2 separate regions of the Homo sapiens genome follow, and region 1 is linked to region 2. Evidence: promoter capture Hi-C in 16 types of primary human blood cells and fetal thymus (Javierre and others, 2016). All regions are on one chromosome and are shown on one strand. The core of a region is centred on a gene start or on the middle of the fragment in contact, and the rest is flanking DNA. Distances in the headings are between cores, read along the strand shown.

The links. Contacts are between HindIII fragments. The CHiCAGO score rates a contact against its expected background, and 5 or more counts as called.
Region 1: a fragment that was not itself captured here is called in contact with the fragment with the promoter of LBX1 in region 2 in 1 of 17 cell types (M1 macrophages); the score reaches 5.1 in M1 macrophages.

What each region holds. Positions count from the first base shown.
Region 1 is chr10:101,723,797-101,728,188 of GRCh38, reverse strand. All of the region lies in intron 1 of LINC03046 (long intergenic non-protein coding RNA 3046), which reads left to right. Among named protein-coding and RNA genes, the nearest start is that of LINC03046, 4.1 kb to the left of the region's middle. RefSeq lists an enhancer at 4,224-4,392. The HindIII fragment of the contact is 285 bases long and covers 1,701-1,985 here.
Region 2 is chr10:101,227,267-101,232,253 of GRCh38, reverse strand. It overlaps LBX1 (ladybird homeobox 1), which reads left to right and starts at 2,791. Exons shown (of 2, transcript NM_006562.5): 1 at 2,791-3,763; 2 at 4,464-4,987. The coding sequence starts at 3,439. The coding sequence ends at 4,984. It overlaps LBX1-AS1 (LBX1 antisense RNA 1), which reads right to left and starts at 2,660. Exons shown (of 3, transcript NR_029380.1): 1 at 2,440-2,660. The HindIII fragment of the contact is 27,362 bases long and covers 1-4,987 here.

The DNA of each region.
Region 1 (4,392 bases), core at 594-3,093, 500 kb before region 2:
TCTCACTCTGTCGCTCAGGCTGGAGTGCAGTGGTGCGATCTCGGCTCACTGCAACCTCTGCCTCCCAGGTTCAAGAGATTCTCCTACCTCAGCCTCCCGAGTAGCCAGAACTACAGGCGCCCACCCCCACGCCTGGCTAATTTTTTTTTGTACTTTTAGTAGAGATGGGGTTTCACCATGTTGGCCAGGCTGGTCTCGAACTCCTGACTTCAGGTGATACACCCTCTTCGGCCTCCCCAGGTGCTGGGATTACAGGCATGAGCCATCCACCGGCTAAGCTCACCTTTAAGGCATGTTTATATTCATTGTTTTAAATAATAGGTCACATTTGAATAACACTCTACAGTTTACAGAAACTGTGTTTCTGCTGGCTGTCACCTCCCTTGGTCATCCTCACAGAAGCCTTTGGGGCAGGCCCAGCACAGGTTACTCCTTCTTCAGGGTCTGCTCAGACTTGCTGGTTCTTCAGCCGGGGATGCCCCCAGTTCTTTGCCTGCATCACTCTCTGCCTCCTTCTATGTCCGTTCCTCAGGAAGGCTGGCCCTGGTCTTGCAGCCCAGGTCAGGAACCCTGCGACATACTCTCTTCTCCCTTTGTAAGTCTCTTTGTGGCCCTAATCACAATGGCAGTGAAATCATTATGCCAGTATTTTATGATAGGCTCCCTGACTAGCCAGTGCTCCACGGGGACAGGGCCTTGTCATGCCTGTATACCTCACACACCCCTCACTGTGCCTGACACAGAGTAGGTGCTCATTAGATGTGTGTGTATTTGTATATGTATGTATATCTATGTATGCATATAAAATGAATTATTTCCAACAAATAGACTAGGAGATCGAAGCTCTATGGTCTCAGCCAGGGGTCCCCAACCCCCTAGGCCATGGACTGGTACCAGTCCATGGCCTGTTAGGAACCTGGCTGCACAGCAGGAGGTGAACATCAGGCATAACTGCCTGAGGTGTACCTCCCATCAGATCAGTGGCGGCATTAGATTCTCGTAGGAATGCGATCCCCATTGTGAACTGTGCGTGTGACGGATCTAGGTTGCCCACTCCTTATGAGAATCTAACTAATGATCTGAGGTGGAACAGTTTAATCCCAAAACCGGCTCCTCCACCCCATCCAAGGAAAAACTGTCTTCCGTGAAACCTGTTCCTGGTGCCAAAAAGGTTGGGGACCACTGGGCTAAGCCACTGGCTTGAAAACTTTTTGTTAGTTACCTATAGTAGAACGTTTATTGTTCATTATGACCCCAGGAATCATACATACACACGTGTACTTCCCCTTACTGTGGACTAAGCCCTGGTATTTTCTATTCTACTCAATTTATTTTATTAAAACATTTTTTAGAGCCTGGCGCCATGGCTCACACCTGTAATCCCAGCACTCTGGGAGGCTGAGGAGGGCAGATCACCTAAGGTCAGGAGTTCGGACCAGCCTGGCCAACATGGTGAAACCCTGTCCCTACTAAAAATACAAAAATTAGCCGGGCTTGGTGGCAGGAATCTGTAATCCCAGCTTCCGGAAGGCTGAGGCAGGAGAATCGCTTGAACCCAGGAGGTGGAGGTTGCAGTGAGCCGAGATTGAGCCGCTGCACTCCAGCCTGGGCAACAGAGCAAGACTCCATCTCGAAAAAATTTTTTTTTTAGTTCCAATCTATTTCATTGATTTCATGACCCACTAACATCTATGGAAGCTTAGCCAATGTGACTTGTTCAAGGTCCCATAACTAGTAGAGTGGTGGAAGCCAGTATTCTCCTGCCTATTACATTCTGGTGGGTTTCTTGCCCTAAGGCAAAACTAAAAGTTTTGTGTCAGTTTTGATAACAAAGGAAAAAATTCATTCTTTTACTTCTCAGTCACAGTTCAGGCAAGGCTGGTCTCACCATCTGCAGGCATTTCAATTAGGTTCATCGAGGTACTTCAGCTTTCTGCAATGTAGCTATCCAGAAGGTTCCTCCTAGAAGCTCCAAAGGGAAAGCTTTAGTCCTAATGGGTGGCACACCCAGACTTGCTGGAATTCTCATCCGAATTACACAAAACATTAACATATGGACAAAGGCACACTGCATATTAAATGATTTACTGGGGTCAAAGATCAAGTCAATGGCAGGCTTAACGTTAACCTGCCGCACGCAGATCCTCAGAGTCTGCTGGGCTAAGACACAGGGAAGCCTTGGCTAGGCTGGGCCCAGCAGCCCGGACCTGGTCAGTCATCAGCAAGTTAATCTACAACGGCACCTTCTTTTCCTACCAGAGGGAGGTTTGACTTGAACTTTTGGAAGACCTGCCTATTTGGAATCCAGATTCCTCTGCTTCAGAGGCTAATTTAGCTGGTGTTGGATGCAGAAGCCTAGAGAAAGCCGAAACTTATTTGTTCTTTTATTCCTGGATTTATAATTTGACCTAATATACTGTACGTCTGTACATATGTTGATCTCAGAAAATGTTTGAGCTTGCCTGCTGCTCAGGCCACGTTGGCAGACAGCTGTTAAAGCCATCAGCAATGTTTGCTTCCAGTTACAAAAGAAAACATTCTCTATTTGGGGCTATGTTGTTGTTTTCTTCTTTCCTGATTTAAAAGGGGAAGTATGTTTCCCAGTAGAGATGTGGGGCTGCCCCCATCCCCTTCTAGGGTTAAGAATGACTAAGAAAACTTTTCAGCACACCTGGCTCATCATCTTTCTAATATTCATACTCTTTTTCTCTCCCTGTGGAAGTATCCTCAGGGGCTTTGGTTTGAAATTATTTGAGCAACTGAGCAGGTTTCTCTCCTTTCCCTGGGGACACCAGTTTATGGTTCAACATCTCCCTCAAACACTGGTGTGTTTTTAGCTAAGAAAGACTCAGGTTTTGTCCCATTATCAGGTGCACTGACAAAATAACTGCTGATGGGAGTAAGAAAACACGAGTAATTCTAACTCCTGCCCAGAACCTTTGAAGGAATGCACAAACTCTGACCTTGCTTTGGTGCTTTGGAGAGACCATCTGGGGAAAACTTCATTTCCAAAAACATATATGAATTTGAGAGTTCCTCTGGCTGAGATGGAGGAAAAGCCATATGGTAAATGGCGGGGTGGGGGAGGGTCACATATGCAAATATTTGTTTCAGAGAAAACAACTCAAATCAGAGTTGTCCATGATACGTCCACCCTTGAATGCCTGACCTGTGCACTGGGGAGGAGGAGGGAAGGAGTAGAGATAAAGGGGAATGAAGAACAGAGAAGCCAGACAATGGCCGGGAAACAGGCCACAAAGGCAGGACACTTGCTGTAGGCTGGAGGTACTGTTGGAAATGTCAGACCGAAGTTCAGGAACCAGCTGGAAGCAAAAGAGGCAGGAAGGTTTGAAAATGAGGAATGGAAGTCTCTGAGGAAAATTTGGCTGCCTAAATGAAAGAGGCTTGGAGAAAAAAAAATGTCAACAAATAGTACCTCAGAGGAATCCAGTGACTATTAGGACCGCTCAAAAATCCATTTTGACTCAAAATTGAAGATGAGATCTGGGCTACTACATGGAAAGGTCTCAACAACCCCAGGATTTCTGGTTAAAGGGCACAGTCAAGTTGAAACTGCAAATCACCAAGCTAAGGTGTTCACTTGAACCACATGACGCCAAGAAATAAGGCTTATAAATGTTATCTTTTTTTTTTTAAATTTCAAATCCCAGCCAGGCACAGTGGCTCACACCTCTAATTCCACTTTGGGAGGCCAAAACAGGAGGAATCCCTTGAGCTCAGGTGTTCAAGACCAGCCTGGGCAACATAACAAGACCCCATCTCTATAAAAAAAAAAAAAAATTTTTCCCAATGAGCCAGGCATGGTGGCATGCACCTGTAGTCCTAGCTACTTGTGAGGCTGAGGTGAGGATTGTTTGAGCTCAGGAGGTGGGGCCTGCATTGAGCTATGATCATGCCACTGCACTCCATCCTGGGTGACAGAGCAAGACCCTGTCTCAAAATAATAATAATAATAAATAAAATAAAATTCAAATCCCAATTGTTCATTGCTGGTATTTAGTATATGACAGAAACTGGCTTTTGTATATTGATCTTGTAACATGGACTCTCTCTCCATTTATTTAGATCTCTGATTTTCTTCACCAGTGTTATGTAGTTTTTCTCATATAGATCCTGTATTTATTTTGTTAGATTTGGGCCTAAGTGGTTTTTGTTTTGTTTTGATTTTTGTTGGTGCTATTGTAAATGGTATTTTTTTTACATTTCAAATTCCAATTGTTCCTTGCTGGTCTTTAGGAAAGCATAAAAAACAAGGCTTTTTTCTTCTTAACTGCCATTCTGAGTTTGTACCCAAAACTACTCCTAGTGAGGGAAAGCTGGGGCAGGATGGGTCAGTAATCACAGCTGTCCCCTTCCCATCTTTCCCTCCCC
Region 2 (4,987 bases), core at 1,542-4,041:
CTGGGTGAATCAAAACAACAAAACACAGGGTGATACCACAGACTTCCCCACATCCCTGCACCTCACACTGCACTCCACACCCCAGCCATATGGTGTGCCCAAGTGTGTTTAACCAAGAGGCCAACCAATTAGGTCAAAAGAGCCAAGCCATAGGATTGGACAGCAGGTACAGGTCAGCCAGGGAAGAAGAGGTTTGGTGTTGGTGGTGGAGGTAACTCAGCAGATGATTGTGAGACGTCGTGTTCCTTTTGACATGGTGTGGCTGAAGACTAAAGATCTCAGTACTAGCCAGCAGGATAAGACATTAAGAACACGCCAAGCAGAGGGACCCCTCTGCTCCCCAGTTCATGTTCCCCTTCCTGTCAGCTTCCCAGTAACCCTGAACTCCGCTGGTCTTGAGGATCTGGGAGATGGGCAACAGCAGGGGATTGGCTTGTCCTTAAAGTCCTATCCTGTGGGCTAGTACCAGATGCGATGCAAAGACTGAAGAGGACAGGAAGGGTGTGGAAGTATGGGAGGAACTCTCTCTCTCTCTCTCTCTCTCTTTCTCTCTATTGGGATCCAAGGGTCCTTGTTCCTGGATCTAGAGGGGCCTCCCTGCCTCCCTGCTAGCCTCACTTGCCTGAGGCTCTGGGTCAGGGGGTTGGGGTTATGGCAGGAAAAGGCTGAAATGGGATCCTGAGGGCAGGAAGTGAGAGGACTGACCCCTCTTGGCCCCAGAGCTTCCAAGCCACCCAGATTCAGCTCCCCAACGCCCTCTCCCACCGGTCCGCCTCTGCTGGTCTCTAGGCTCTGACTCCTCTGTTGCTAGGCCCAGCAGCACCTCGTGGCTCCCAGGGCAGCGCAGAAGAGTAGAGACAGGTCTGCCCTGGAGTGGGTCTGCAGCTCTGAGGGAACTGTGATTCCCATTCTCACCAATCCTGCCTCTGAGCATTTGTCTTCCCCCCACTCGCTTACTGCCACCCCGAAAATGCAGGACAAAGATGAGTTAGAGGGTAGGGGTTCTTCCCAACATTCACAGAACTGGGGCACCAAACAAGAACCCTTTCTCCCTACACTGTCCTTTTTACCCCAGAGAGCTGCCAGCCACAATTCCAAACAAACAACTGAAGGTGAGATCATGAAACCTATCTCTGCTGTGCAGAGGCCCCCTACGCTGAGGCATCCAGAGAAAGAACCTGCTTCCCGCCCCGGAGCCCAGCTTAGCTCACTCCCTCTCTGGGGTTAGATATGAGGGGAGAGGGGGCAAGAAATCCTAATCTTCCCATTCCAACCCTTGGCCTGGGCCACAAATCCTCACTTTGGCCTCTCTGGGCCCTTTTCTGGTCCAAGCGGTGCTGCCCAATGCCCAACCTCACCGCCCACCCAGGAGTTTACAAACAAAGCCAGGGCCAGGGCTGTGTGTGTGTGGGAGGGGAACAGCCCTTCTCCCTGGACTCCAACCCCCTCTAGGTCCTCCCCTCCTTTCTCCAAGGGCAGAAATGGAAAATTAGTAAGGAGGCCAGTGGCCCCACATAAACAGAATGGGGTAGCAAGACAGGAAGGCCTGAGGGCACAGCCCTGCTGGAATGCCTCAGGGAAATGAAAGAAATAGCTGAGTTCAAACACACCTATATACCCACAGGTTCACACACATTTACACAAATATACGCATGGAGAAACACACACAAACACACATTCAAAAACACAAACACCTTCAAGTAACAATGCACACAACATGTTCTCCCGATATTCACAGATCCCGGGCCCTAAGGTCTTTAGCCCCAGCCTAACTGGAAGCCTGGCCTCCCTGCGAGTTCCTGAGAGCAAAGCCCCAGCCGCGGCCTGGCTCCCGCCGGGCCCCCGCCCCGCATCCGGAACAGCTGGAGTCGGCCTGGCCATGCACTCAAGCCGGGCGCTGGGCTAGGCGGGGCCGGCAGCGGGGCCCCGGCCGGGGCCCGGGCGGAGCGCAGCAGGGAGGCACGGAGCCGGCCCCGTTAGCCCCGGCACCTGGCCTGGCTACTCTTCAGACGCCCATCATCAGGCCGTTGGTGGCCCCAGCCAGCCTGGGGAGCGGCTGCCGGAGGAAAGTGAGCAAGATTGCCGGAGGAGGTAGGGCGGCCGCTTCGGAATCAGGCCGGGGAGAGGCGTCCAGAGCCGCCAACAATTCCCTCCTCCGCCTCTCCGCGTGGAGAAGGCTGAGCTCTCCGACTAGCCCCCTCCCCCAACCCCTGGGGTCCTCCACCCCCTTCCCGCGTCGCCCACCCAAGGCTGCGCAGCCGGCTCTGACCTCCTGCGGGCCAGCGCAGGAGGGCTTCAGATTCCCTCTCCCCAGGCGCGTCGCCCAGGCAGTGGGGTGAGGGGCAAGAGGGTCAGAGGTAGAGGCGCTGGGCTCTTGATCTCAGCTCCGCAAAGTCCACTCTGGGTGGCAGCGGGGCCCACCCGGGCTCCTGGTCCTACCTGGCCCGAGCGGCGGCCGCGTCCCTCCCGGGCTGGGGTTCCCACCACTCTTTCGGGCTCCACATCCCGGGTCGGAGAGACCGAGACCTTCGGGCCGGTGCGGTCATTGCAGCTAGGCCGGCGGGAGGCGGGTGCGCCAGGAGCGCGGCTCGCAGTTTGGGGTGGGGGCGGTGGCTTTTCAGTCGCCCGAGGTTCGGGTGCAATAAAGGAGCAGCTAATGTAATTTACAAACAGCTCGGGCCGAACGCAGCGCAGCGCCCGGACTGACAGGCGCATTAGGCAGGCTAATTCCAGCCGGCTCCTCCTACCCCCGGCCCGCTAATTAATGAGCTTCCCAACTTACAGCCGCCTGCATTGGACAGACAGAGAGTGAAAGAGAGGGCGAGGGAGAGGGAGAGAAGGAGAGAGAAGGGGGGAGCAGAGAAGAGAGAAGAGAGAGGGAGGGAGGGAGAGCGAGAACAGGAGGAGAGAACAGAGGCAAAGAAGAGAGGAAAAAGGGAGAAAGGAGAGAGAAAGAGAAAGAAGTGCCGCTGCAGATAATTGATTACACCGCGATCAAGGCTAACTTGTTAGCAATAGTCAATTGCCCCGTCTCTCCGCCTCCCTCGCAGTCCGGGATCGGCGCCCTCGCCTCGGCTCTTCCAACTGCGGCCGCCAGGACCCGGGGCCAGGAGCCACTGCCGAGCCACCTGACACCTTTAAATAGCACCGGGGTTGGCGAAACTGGAGCCCCGCGCAGCGCGCCCCGGCTCCGGCCCCGGATTGCTGGAAGCCCCAGCAGCAGCGGCGCCCGCGTCAGCGCCCTCTTCCCGGGGCCCCGCGCTGTTCTCCCCTCCTCAGCCGCCGCGCTAATCGGCCCCGCGCCCGGCCCGCGCCCTGCCCAGTGCGGCCTCCTTTCCACCCGCCGCTGCCTGCCCGCGCCGTCCGGCGCCCGAGCTGCCCGCGGGCTGGGTCCCCGCGGCCCGAGCCGCCCCGGCCGGGACCCCGAACAAGGCCGAGATGACTTCCAAGGAGGACGGCAAGGCGGCGCCGGGGGAGGAGCGGCGGCGCAGCCCGCTGGACCACCTGCCTCCGCCTGCCAACTCCAACAAGCCACTGACGCCGTTCAGCATCGAGGACATCCTCAACAAGCCGTCTGTGCGGAGAAGTTACTCGCTGTGCGGGGCGGCGCACCTGCTGGCCGCCGCGGACAAGCACGCGCAGGGCGGCTTGCCCCTGGCGGGCCGCGCGCTGCTCTCGCAGACCTCGCCGCTGTGCGCGCTGGAGGAGCTCGCCAGCAAGACGTTTAAGGGGCTGGAGGTCAGCGTTCTGCAGGCAGCCGAAGGTAGGCGCAGCTGCTGGGTTCCCCTGCACCCAGCGCCTCGCGCCCTGTGCCCTGCGCGCTTCGTCCCCTATGCCTCTGCTCGCCTCTGCCCTCTCCGGCCGCCAGGGCCTTCCAGCCTGAGCAGCTGCTTATGGGAGTGAAGATATGTGGGACGGGACCCAATCCTTATTTCCCAGGGACCTCTGGGTAGGCCAGAGCTGGGGGGTGGCAGGAGAAGGGTGGCCAAGCTCTTTCCGCAGTCTGCTTGCTTTGCCGGGCTCCCTTGCGTTCCCAGTGTCCTGGGCGCTCTTAGCCCGGCTACTCGGCGTGGGGAATCGAGAGTCTTTTGCCGGGGACCTTATGGGTAGGGTAGAGTTGAAGTGATTGGGAAGGGATGGAGAACCAACATTCACACCGCAATTAGGGTGTCTCTGTCTGGCTTTCTCATACCCTTAGAGACTTTGGGTCTTTCAAACCAACTCTTAGGTAGGGGGCAGAGACCAAAACAATTTTTCCTAGGGACTTCTGGGAGACCAAAGACAGGAGATGGTTTGCCATAGCCAAGACTTGCCCTGGTCCTGGAGGCTGAATTAAATCTGAGAAGGGAACATTGGTAGACTGCAGGCCGGACAGGCCTGGGTGGGTTACGGAGTTACGGGGGCGAGAGCCAGGGTGGGCTTCCTCTCTCCCAACGCGAGCCTACACTGTCCTTTCCTCCCAGGCCGCGACGGTATGACCATCTTTGGGCAGCGGCAGACCCCTAAGAAGCGGCGAAAGTCGCGCACGGCCTTCACCAACCACCAGATCTATGAATTGGAAAAGCGCTTTCTATACCAGAAGTACCTGTCCCCCGCCGATCGCGACCAAATCGCGCAGCAGCTGGGCCTCACCAACGCGCAAGTCATCACCTGGTTCCAGAATCGGCGCGCTAAGCTCAAGCGGGACCTGGAGGAGATGAAGGCCGACGTAGAGTCCGCCAAGAAACTGGGCCCCAGCGGGCAGATGGACATCGTGGCGCTGGCCGAACTCGAGCAGAACTCGGAGGCCACAGCCGGCGGTGGCGGCGGCTGCGGCAGGGCCAAGTCGAGGCCCGGCTCTCCGGTCCTCCCCCCAGGCGCCCCGAAGGCCCCGGGCGCTGGCGCCCTGCAGCTCTCGCCTGCCTCTCCGCTCACGGACCAGCCGGCCAGCAGCCAGGACTGCTCGGAGGACGAGGAAGACGAAGAGATCGACGTGGACGATTGAGCG